Regions from separate parts of the Homo sapiens genome. Here all the other regions are linked to region 2. The links are contacts of gene promoters, found by promoter capture Hi-C in blood cells and fetal thymus (Javierre and others, 2016). All regions are on one chromosome and are shown on one strand. Each heading gives the region's core, a stretch centred on a gene start or on the middle of the fragment in contact. The rest is flanking DNA. Distances are from core to core; before and after follow the strand shown.

Region 1 (3,815 bases), core at 709-3,208, 280 kb after region 2:
AAAAGCCCTGTCTTCAACTTCAGAAATTCTTTTTTCTTCTTGGTCTAGTCTGTTGTTGAAGCTCTCAATGGTAATTTTTTTATTTTAGTCATTGGATTCTTCAGCTTTAAGGTTTCTGTCTTGTTCTTTTTAATGATACCCATCTCTTTGTCGAATTTCTCATTCAAATCATGAATTGTCTTTCTGAATTCATTGAATTGCCTATATTCTCTTGTATCTCAGTTTTCTTAAGTTTATTGTTTTGAATTCTTTTTCTGGGATTTCACACATTTTCTTATCATTGAGGTCTGTTACTTGAGAATTGCTGTTTTTCATTGACAGTGTCTTGTTTCCTTGCTTTCTCATGTTTGATGTGTCCCTACACTGATTTCTATGCACGTGGTAAAGTCACTTCTTCCAATTTTATGAAGTAGGTTTCATATGAATGAGTTTTAGGGTATTGGTTTGGTAGAGTACATTGGCTTTGCTTCTAGGTGGATGCAACAGTGTACTCTCCATGTAGTTTCTTCAGCTATAATCCATACTAGTAGCATAAGCAAGTTTCTCAGTGGTCTAGGCTGAGAGAGTCTGTGGCACCAGTGGTGTGGCTTTGTAGGATTGGGGTTGCTGGGCTGTTTCTCAGGTTGGAGGCATATATATGCACACAGTGTGCTAGCTAACTTGGAGTCACTGGGGTTGGAGCTATGGTACTGTTACTCTTGCCACAGGCACAAGCATGCAATTGCTTGTCTGACCTAGAATTGTGCCTGCCAGGAGTGGTCCGTGGAACTATTTCTCAGGTCTACATGCAGGTGCAAGGCTCTTCAGTTGGCCTGGGGGTATGCCCACCAGGGGCAACCTGCAAGGCTGTTTCTTAGGCACTGATGGAGAGTACAGGACCATTGGGTAGGCCACAGCCATGTCTGCAGGGGGCAGGGGGCAGGGGCACTGCAGGGCTATTTCTCAGGTCCTGAGCACGGTCACATAGCGACTTTGCTGGCCAGGGGCAGATCAGCTGCTCAGAGACTCAGGTCCTCTCCCATTTAGGGGAGGGCATGTAGCAGTTTGGCTGGCTCAAGAGTAGAGTTGCCCTGGGCAAGATTGCTATACTCTTCCCCCAGCTGAAAGTGTAGTGACAGGAGTTGTTTTCCCTGCTGTGCAGGACCAGAGTCATAGCTGATTCTGGGCCCAGGCTCTGCACAGCTGGGGTTGTGGCATTCAGCTACCTGTATCAGCTTGTTGGAAATAAAATGGAGTCCCAGTGCTGGAGAGGTGCAGTAGATACTGGCCCCCAGAGAAGGGTGGACCCCAGAGGTAGCTCTGGTCTCAAGATGGTGCTATGCTGCAGAAGCTTGGCTCACAGGGGTGTGAGGTATGGGGAGTGCAAACCTTGTGCTCCTGCTACAGGGCAATACAGCTGCATGAATTCCTAGCGGCTCTCCAAAATGGGCTTAGGGTTTGCAAGAGCTTTGGGATTCTCCTCTTATAAGGACTGTAGGTGTTTGTGGTGGCAGTGGGGGCTGGTGGGGATCATTTTACATTTTCTCTTCAGTGGAAAGTCCTTCCTAACTCCAGGCAGATCTGATCCAGTTTGGATAGACAAGTCTGCAGAGATTGGGTGCTTCTACACAGCCCTATGGTGATTTCAAATCACCCTATGTGTGTCTGCAGTCTCTTGCTGCACTTAGCATTCTCCCTTTGACAAATCGTAGCTGTCTGTTCCTTGCCTTGGTCCTTTTCTACTCATGTATTTCTTATCCTATTGAGCTCTCACTATGTGCCAGGCATGTGATGTTAAGGGATACCATTGAGTAAGTACAATGCTCTTTATTGGGATACAGAGCAAGTAAACCTGTATACTCAGCCAACTCAATGCAGGCATCCTCTCATTTCCCCATTGACCATACTGGGCAGTAAATAATCTCAATCCTTGACTCTTTTTTTCCTTGACTTCACACAAATCAACTCCATTTTCTTTTAATGGTTTTACCTTGAAATTTTTATCATTTATTAGACTACTGATAAAAGAGAAGTCTTACCCTCCATCTGAGAAATTTGGAAGACACTCTAGTCCCTTGATGGATTTTGAGAAGTGTGCTGTTCTCACCAGAAAATCGTTTGTTCATCCTATCTTGGAGTGAATTCCTTCTGCAGATGGCTAATCTCATGGACTTTGTGGCACTTACTTAATAACTTTATTCTCAGTGGATGACTTTTTCTTGTCTCAATCCCAAATCCCAAAGATATACTCTCTTTGATGCCTGTAGGCACCTGCTTTCAGCTGTGTACAGACTGACCCATGATATTTCATCCGTGTAAGCCATTAGAATAGTTTTCTCCACTAAATCTTGGTACTATGCCCTATTGTCTCTATTTTACCCTTAACTTTACTTAACTGGCATTTGCATGGCTTGGCTTTATTTGACAAGGAAGTAGCCATCCTAAGAAAGATTCATCATCATCTCATCCTCTGCCTTGAGAGTTCAGTGAAAAAGCTAGCTGCTTCTGGAGAGAGTTCCTTTTCCATATTCAAACTTCATCAAGACAAGGGATGATTTAATTACGACTTTCAGAATTTGTCACTATATAAAGTAAAATCATTTGTATGAAGCTTCACATAGTGTTCTGTGTCTAGGCTGTGTTACTATTGAAAGGAGGTAGATATAGACCTCGAGAAGAATTTCTTGATTTTAAGAATTGGCAGATATTAGTACATATTAGAAAGGATAAGAAATCCCAAGAACTTGTAAATGAAGCCAACAGCTAGTGGAACACTGCCAAAATATAAGAAGATGGACATTAGGGATGTACAAAGGTTAAGAGTGTGGACTTTAGAGTCAGATTTTAGATCTTGTCCTGGTTTACCAAGTGTGTGACTCAACCATTTTCGCAACTGTAAAATGAGCCTTGTAAAGTCATCTACTTCATGGGGCTGGTTACAGGATTAGAAAATAAATGCAAAAAGGCCTAGCGTAGTATGTGCATATAGTATGTACTTAATAAATGTTAGTTACATTTAAGATTCCATATCCTTTGATATCACAATGAAATTTCATTCATTTGGGCCCTAGTAATTAAAAATGTATTACACTATTTGCTCTATTTCATATGTATCCTCCACAGCAAAAATAACTTCCTAATTGATAATGCATATGTTATTGTAACCTGAAAATCCTAAACAGACAGAAGTTATCAATGTTTTTGTTGACAATTCATAAATAGGCTGAGCTGGAAATTGTCTCCTTTATCATTGAAAGCCTATTGAAATGTTAAGAAGTTACAAGGTTATATTTAACCCATTTCAGAGAAAAAACTCTTTTAAAACACTTAGCACTCTTTGCATATAAGCAGCCACTCTGCCAATCATAAATGATCCTTATCTCTTTATTAAAACCAATATGACAGAACATTGACTTCTCAGCACTTTAATAGTTCTTAGTTCAGGTGTTGAAGTGTAACGATCTTGCATTTCTTCAAATTTTTTCAGAAATATGTCTTTCCTTGTGAGTAAATAGAGCTGGTTTAATTTGTTTTATATCATAAATTTCCCACAGGGCAAAACCAAAACGATATTTTGTGAAATTCCATGCTTGGTAAACTCCATCTAAAAATGATATGGCTGACAGAATTGTTCACTGGTTTAGTCACGTCATAACTAAAAACAAAGGAAAAGTGATTCTCTTTCTCTCCATTTCCCCATTAACCCCACTACTTCTCCCAGCCAATTAACAGAAATCTATTCTTTAATTAACCCTATAAATATATACACCTACTATATACCCACAAAAATTTCAAAAGTTAAAAAAAACCTTTTAATTAGCCAACATCTACTGGAC
Region 2 (3,591 bases), core at 1,028-3,527:
ATATATATTTAGTATAGTTAGCTCTTCTTGTTGAATTGATCCCTTACCATTATGTAATGGCCTTCTTTGTCTCTTTTGATCTTTGGTGGTTTAAAGTCTGTTTTATCAGACTAGGATTGCAACCCCTGCCTTTTTTTGTTTTCCATTTGCTTGGTAGATCTTCCTCCATCCTTTTATTTTGAGCCTATGTGTGTCTCTGCACGTGAGATGGGTTTCCTGAATACAGCACACTGATGGGTCTTGACTCTTTATCCAATTTGCCAGTCTGTGTCTTTTAATTGGAGCATTTAGTCCATTTACATTTAAAGTTAATATTGTTATGTGTGAATTTGATCCTGTCATTGTGATGTTAGCTGGTGATTTTGCTCGTTAGTTGATGCAGTTTCTTCCTAGTCTCGATGGTCTTTACATTTTGGCATGATTTTGCAGTGGCCGGTACCGGTTGTTCCTTTCCATGTTTAGCGCTTTCTTCAGGAGCTCTTTTAGGGCAGGCCTGGTGGTGACAAAATCTCTCAGCATTTGCTTGTCTGTGAAGTATTTTATTTCTCGTTCACTTATGAAGCTTAGTTTGGCTGGATATGAAATTCTGGGTTGAAAATTCTTTTCTTTAAGAATGTTGAATATTGGCCCCCACTCTCTTCTGGCTTGTAGAGTTTCTGCCGAGAGATCCGCTGTTAGTCTGATGGGCTTCCCTTTGAGGGTAACCCGACCTTTCTCTCTAGCTGCCCTTAACATTTTTTCCTTCATTTCAACTTTGGTGAATCTGACAATTATGTGTCTTGGAGTTGCTCTTCTCGAGGAGTATCTTTGTGGTGTTCTCTGTATTTCCTGAATCTGAATGTTGGCCTGCCTTGCTAGATTGGGGAAGTTCTCCTGGATAATATCCTGCAGAGTGTTTTCCAACTTGGTTCCATTCTCCCCATCACTTTCAGTTACACCAATCAGACGTAGATTTGGTCTTTTCACATAGTCCCATTTTTCTTGGAGGCTTTGCTCATTTCTTTTTATTGTTTTTGCTCTAACCTTCCCTTCTCGCTTCATTTCATTCATTTCATCTTCCATTGCTGATACCCTTTCTTCCAGTTGATCGCATCGGCTCCTGAGGCTTCTGCATTCTTCACGTAGTTCTCGAGCCTTGGTTTTCAGCTCCATCAGCTCCTTTAAGCACTTCTCTGTATTGGTTATTCTAGTTATACATTCATCTAAATTTTTTTCAAAGTTTTCAACTTCTTTGCCTTTGGTTTGAATGTCCTCCCGTAGCTCAGAGTAATTTGATCGTCTGAAGCCTTCTTCTCTCAGCTCTTCAAAGTCATTCTCCATCCAGCTTTGTTCCGTTGCTGGTGAGGAACTGCGTTCCTTTGGAGGAGAAGAGGCGCTCTGCGTTTTAGAGTTTCCAGTTTTTCTGTTCTGTTTTTTCCCCATCTTTGTGGTTTTATCTACTTTTGGTCTTTGATGATGGTGATGTACAGATGGGTTTTCGGTGTGGATGTCCTTTCTGTTTGTTAGTTTTCCTTCTAACAGACAGGACCCTCAGCTGCAGGTCTGTTGGAATACCCTGCCGTGTGAGGTGTCAGTGTGCCCCTCCTGGGGGTGCCTCCCAGTTAGGCTGCTCAGGGGTCAGGGGTCAGGGACCCACTTGAGGAGGCAGTCTGACGGTTCTCAGATCTCCAGCTGGGTGCTGGGAGAACCACTGCTCCCTTCAAAGCTGTCAGACAGGGACATTTAAGTCGCAGAGGTTACTGCTGTCTTTTTGTTTGTCTGTGCCCTGCCCCCAGAGGTGGAGCCTACAGTGGCAGGCAGGCCTCCTTGAGCTGTGGTGGGCTCCACCCAGTTCGAGCTGCTTTGTTTACCTAAGCAAGCCTGGGCAATGGCGGGCGCCCCTCCCACAGCCTCGCTGCCGCCTTGCAGTTCGATCTCAGACTGCTGTGCTAGCAATCAGGGAGACTCTGTGGGCGTAGGACACTCCGAGCCAGGTGTGGGATATAGTCTCGTGGTGCGCCGTTTTTTAAGCCGGTCTGAAAAGCGCAATATTCGGGTGGGAGTGAACTGATTTTCCAGGTGCGTCCGTTACCCCTTTCTTTGACTCGGAAAGGGAACTCCCTGACCCCTTGAGCTTCCCAGGTGAGGCAATGCCTCGCCCTGCTTTGGCTCGCGCACCGTGCGCGCACCCACTGGCCTGCACCCACTGTCTGACACTCCCTAGTGAGATGAACCCGGTACCTCAGATGGAAATGCAGAAATCATCCGTCTTCTGCGTGGCTCACGCTGGGAGCTGTAGACCGGAGCTGTTCCTATTCGGCCGTCTTGGCTCCTCCCCCCTTTTCTTTTGTTCTTAATGGTAAATAAAATAATGATGTATCTCGTAATCAATTGATGACATCTTAGAATTGATAAAATATGCTAAACTTCCTTCCTCCTTCTTCTGATCAAGTCACATAATATGTAATCTTAAAAACATTTATTTTAGCTGATTTTGATAAGCATCACATTGTATTCACAGTATTGTTCACATATATAATGTTTACATTAAACATTATTTCACATTTATTAATTATAACATGTAATCTTATATTGCATTGATGCTGGAGAAAAAATCTTTCATTTACTCCCAAATGTATATTTTCACTTCTTTTAAGGCATTTATTATAATAGTCCAAGATCAATTGCAAGTATTCATAAATGCAATAGGAAATGCTATAAATTGATCATTTAAAGAAATCTTAGTAGGTTTAGTTTTTTACAACAGAGCTGCATTGAACAATTACTGCACACATACACTGTGGTAAGGCTGAGAAAGCACACAAATGTTAACATGCAGCCCCAACCTCAGGAAGCTCAACATTTGTCACATTTAATGACATGAATTGATAAGGATTCTTTTTTGGTTTTGTAAGAGAAAAGGTCTTCTGTCATCCAGGCTGGAGTGCAGTGGCACAATCATAGCTTACTGTAACCTCAAACTCCTGGGCTTAAGTGATCCTCCCAACTCAGCCTCCCGAAATGTTGGGATTACAGGTGTGAGCCACTGCACCTGGCCTGAATGTATTCTTTCTAAGGAAATCTGAGGGGTCATAAATAGCATGGGGCACATAATTTTCTTTCTTTCAGATGTACCAAGAGGAAAAAAAAATCACAAACTTTGATAAGTAAAAGACATAAATAATATGATAGTGCTGCATTAAGTAGTACAAAGTGGAACACTTCAGATGTACCCAGCAAATGCTCTTGTTGAACAAAATAGTCTGGGTGTCTGTTCATTTCACTCATAATTACTGAGTGCCCACTCTATACTTAATATGAAGATGTGATGATTAGTTTTATTTGTCAACTTGGCTAGACCACAGTCCCTAATTATTCAATCAAATGTTAATCCAAGTGTTGCCATGAAGGCATTTTGTGTGTTATTAAAGTCCACAATCAATTGATTTTAAGTAAGGGAGATTATACTACATAATCTGAGTGGGCTTGATTTATTCAGTCCATTTAAAGGCCCTGAGAGCAAAGCTAAGGCTTCCCTGAAGAAGAAAAGCAAGCCCTATGAGGTAGCTATTAGCATTATTCCTATTTTACAGACTAGGACACTGAGGCTTA
Region 3 (3,558 bases), core at 719-3,218, 300 kb after region 2:
TCACATAGTTATTGAACCTCATATGCTCAGTGCTGTGGGAATCAAACATGGAAGAGGTATGGCTCCTGCCCCTAATGAGAACAAGGGGGAAAAATCCAGATATAATCTAAATGCTAGGTTATGTCAGGGTATAGGAACACAGAGAATGGGGGACCTGTAAGAACTGGAAGAGTCAGAGAGGGCTCCATTGAAGAGGTCAAACATAATTCCGGAAAGAATTAGGTAGTGAGGAGATTGTGCCAGGAAAATAAGTGGGAAAGGCCACAGTTATGTTTCCTTTGAATGGAAGAGAGACAAAGCTATCAGCTATAGATCATTGTTTTCTTAAGACAGCCAAACTGGCCCTTTGAAACCATTCAAATTACCCCAGTTTAGCTCCCTACCTTTTAGTCTCCGTGAGGAAGACAAGCTGTTGCATTATCATATTCCTCTGTGCTGAGCAGCTCAAGACTCAGCCACAATATGCAAATTGCTTTAATGCCATATTACGGCAGTTGATTTAGACATTTGCCAGTGCACCAAACCATGAGAGATTGTCCGACCTAATGCCACCTGGCAGATGTGTACCCAGAGATTTTTCTGTAGCTCCATGTTTCCCATAAAGGGCATTGGAAATGCACAGATGAAGATCTTCCTTTGGAACCAGGCACATTTGGCCCCTTCTCAGTGACTGCACTGTGGAACTCTTCTTAAGAAAATATTGAAAACAGCTTAATGCTTTCATATAGTGACCGACATTTAGTTGAAAACTACTGCTGCATAGCAAATATTGTGACTCTTCATGTGTCCACAGGAGCTCTTGTGTGGGTTTAAAGCTATGAAGTGTATTCACATTGTGAAGTTTTAATTATCTTTATTGAAATTAATTGTGTAAAAATGGTATGTGCTCTATTAGGTATTCAGTTTGTATGTGAATTCTATAAAGAAAGTGGTTTTTGTTCTTTGAGTTTGTTTTATTTCTTGAAGATTACAATAAATATCTAAGAGACTATATTCCTGAATTTCTTAGCCTTAGTCTGATTAATGTTTTTCATCTCCTTTCAATTCATATTATTTTTCATCCTAGGATGCTTATTTCCATTTCTTCTCCCACTTCTATAATCTTAGGTACAACACTGAGTTTGAACTGAAGATGAAGAGTGAACACATTTAGGGCTTTGAGTATCTCACACATGAATTTGGACTTAGGCACAGGAATGAATTCTAATACTTGTAATCTTTCAAGGTCGATAACTTTCTAACTGACCCAACTGACTGGGTTCCAGAGTTACAAAGCTTAGCTGTAGGATCAAGAATAGCTGCTAAGGGAGATAAAGGTCTTCAGGTCTGCAACTTGAAGACCATGTGTCCCTAAATGAAAAGTCTAAGGTTTGATGATCACTTAGCACCCTACTGGCATAGCCCGAGGCAAGGGCGGTCAACAGAGAAAACATGTGGATGGGATGTGTGAATGGAATGGGTGTCATTTAATGCACAGTGCTTGGTGCAGTGATGATTAGGATGCCGTGCAGGATCTCCTTGGCCATGGGCCTCAAGGCATGGGGAAGCACCCAGCTACCAATCTATTTGTATCACAGCAGACCTACTACTAATTTTGCAATCTTGTAGCATTCTACTTGTACTAACAGCACTGATTCTATGGAATTTCTTCCAAATGTTCCTCAGGGCAATTTCCAGGAAGGAGTCTGCACTGAAAATCAGTCAAGGGGGAAGGTCCCTGGAAGAGCCACATGAGTCCCATGGGTCAAATTAGCTTCCTGAACTGAACTTGGTAATAGAAGGGTAACCTCCCTGGGTAGACAAAGCAAGTAGCACTTAAGAAACCAAAAAAAAAAAAAAAGAAAACAATGATAATAAATTAAGGGATTTCCAGTTATATTATCAACAAATACTTACAAAATGCCTTCTAATGCTAATTTATCAGTATTTATCAGTATTTATCAGTATTTCAGTAATTTATCAGTATTTATCAGTATACATGAAAATACATACTATAGAGTCCTGACCCTCCATGAACTTAAACCATTGTGATAGAGGAAAATGTGTAAGTTAATATCAATAAAAAACTCATCATTGATAAACTAAATATTCCTTAATATATATGTCTAATAAATACTTAAAATGAACATTGGAAATTTGTTTCATTTCAAAAGAGCTCACAAAAATTTCCTCTTTGAAATGTTGTAAAATGCATTTTTTGGACTGTAGTCCTTTGCCCCCAGATAAATATATAACAATCAATAAAAGTCAGTTCAAAACTTAAAAAAAAAAATTAAGAGCCCAGAAAGACTTCACATGTTTCCTGATTATTCTGAGGCTCTTGTGGCAGAACCAGATCCAACTGGTTTTAGCAGGAATCTGCCTGTACCCTATTCCCTCAAGTAATATGCCCTTAGCTTTTTTAAAATTAATTTTAAAACATGAAGTTACTATGTGGCCACTTACTCAATAGCATTGAGACAGTAGGCATGAAACAGAAAACATCTGTCACCCTCAGAAAATGCTAAGTCATTCTCTCCTCAACTTCCTAACAGACTTGAAAAGGACACCTTCTATATAAAAGGCCACAAAGTCTTTGCACAGTTCTCAGGGACACTCCACCTCTTGGTTCTTGGTTCTCCTCTTTCTCCTCTAACTTCTCAACCCCTCACCCAGTCCAAAGAAGCTTTAGTCTGATAGAGACTGCCTGCTCATCTTTTCTTCCTAATCTATTGTTAATGACCTGAGTCCTTTTGAGCTAGAATTTCTCATTGTTTATTAATTCTAAATCTCAGGAAATTTTATCTAAAAATTATGTTCTCTTTTTTAAGTATTGCCTCTCCCTTAAAGCAATTCTGCTAAGTGGAAGAAAGGCAAAGGGTATAGAAAATATATGGAAAGTGAGTGTTGGATGAAAATCTGGATTAATATTTCAAAACAATATTCTACCAAGCAGACAATTACAATATAATTTGATTAGTGTCAATATAGAGGTTAAACACAAGCTACTGTGAAAGCACAGAGAGAAGCAATTATTAATCCAGATTGAAAGCAAGGGCTGGGATGTTCTGAGAAGGCCTACTAGAGGAAACAAGGACTGAGCTAAAACATACAGGAGATGTAGGAATTATGCAGAGGCAGATGTGAGAGAAGACTGCTCCAAGCATGGGGAGCAAACCACGGAAGTTTAGCAAAGCATGGTGTATTTATGGAATTTCAAAGCCATTCACATAGGGTGATCACAGGATGAAACAAAAGGAGAAAGAGCGAGGGCTGAGATCATAACATTTATCAGAAATGCTTTAAATGTCTAGATTTCATTCTCTAGCTGTGGGGAATTCATGAACAGATTTAAGCCAGGTAGAAGTTTGAACAGATTTGAATTTTAGAAGATCACAAAATTGGCAATATGAGAAATGAATTAAAGGGAGGCAATAACAGAAACAGAAAGAGTATTAGACAGCTATTATAGTAACCTAGAAGTTTTATCTCTAAATTAATTGCAGAATGATAGAAATGAAGAGTAGGGAATACATGAAAGTTCACTTTAGAAGGTAAGAAATGGTGACCAGTAAGATT

Evidence for each region. Contacts are between HindIII fragments. The CHiCAGO score rates a contact against its expected background, and 5 or more counts as called.
Region 1: a contact is called between a fragment that was not itself captured here and the fragment with the promoter of LINC02108 in region 2, in 4 of 17 cell types (total B cells, naive B cells, M2 macrophages and 1 more). The highest score is 7.0, in total B cells.
Region 3: a fragment that was not itself captured here is called in contact with the fragment with the promoter of LINC02108 in region 2 in 3 of 17 cell types (M2 macrophages, endothelial precursors and erythroblasts); the score reaches 6.1 in M2 macrophages.

The regions. Positions count from the first base shown.
Region 1 is chr5:58,840,199-58,844,013 of GRCh38, forward strand. The region is part of intron 4 of RAB3C (RAB3C, member RAS oncogene family); the gene reads left to right. Among named protein-coding and RNA genes, the nearest start is that of PDE4D-AS1, 200 kb to the right of the region's middle. The HindIII fragment of the contact is 1,260 bases long and covers 1,329-2,588 here.
Region 2 is chr5:58,555,966-58,559,556 of GRCh38, forward strand. LINC02108 (long intergenic non-protein coding RNA 2108) reads right to left here and starts at 2,278. Exons shown (of 4, transcript NR_109904.1): 1 at 2,221-2,278. The HindIII fragment of the contact is 10,011 bases long and covers 561-3,591 here.
Region 3 is chr5:58,858,394-58,861,951 of GRCh38, forward strand. It overlaps RAB3C (RAB3C, member RAS oncogene family), which reads left to right. Exons shown (of 5, transcript NM_138453.4): 5 at 1-1,001. Among named protein-coding and RNA genes, the nearest start is that of PDE4D-AS1, 180 kb to the right of the region's middle. The HindIII fragment of the contact is 1,390 bases long and covers 1,274-2,663 here.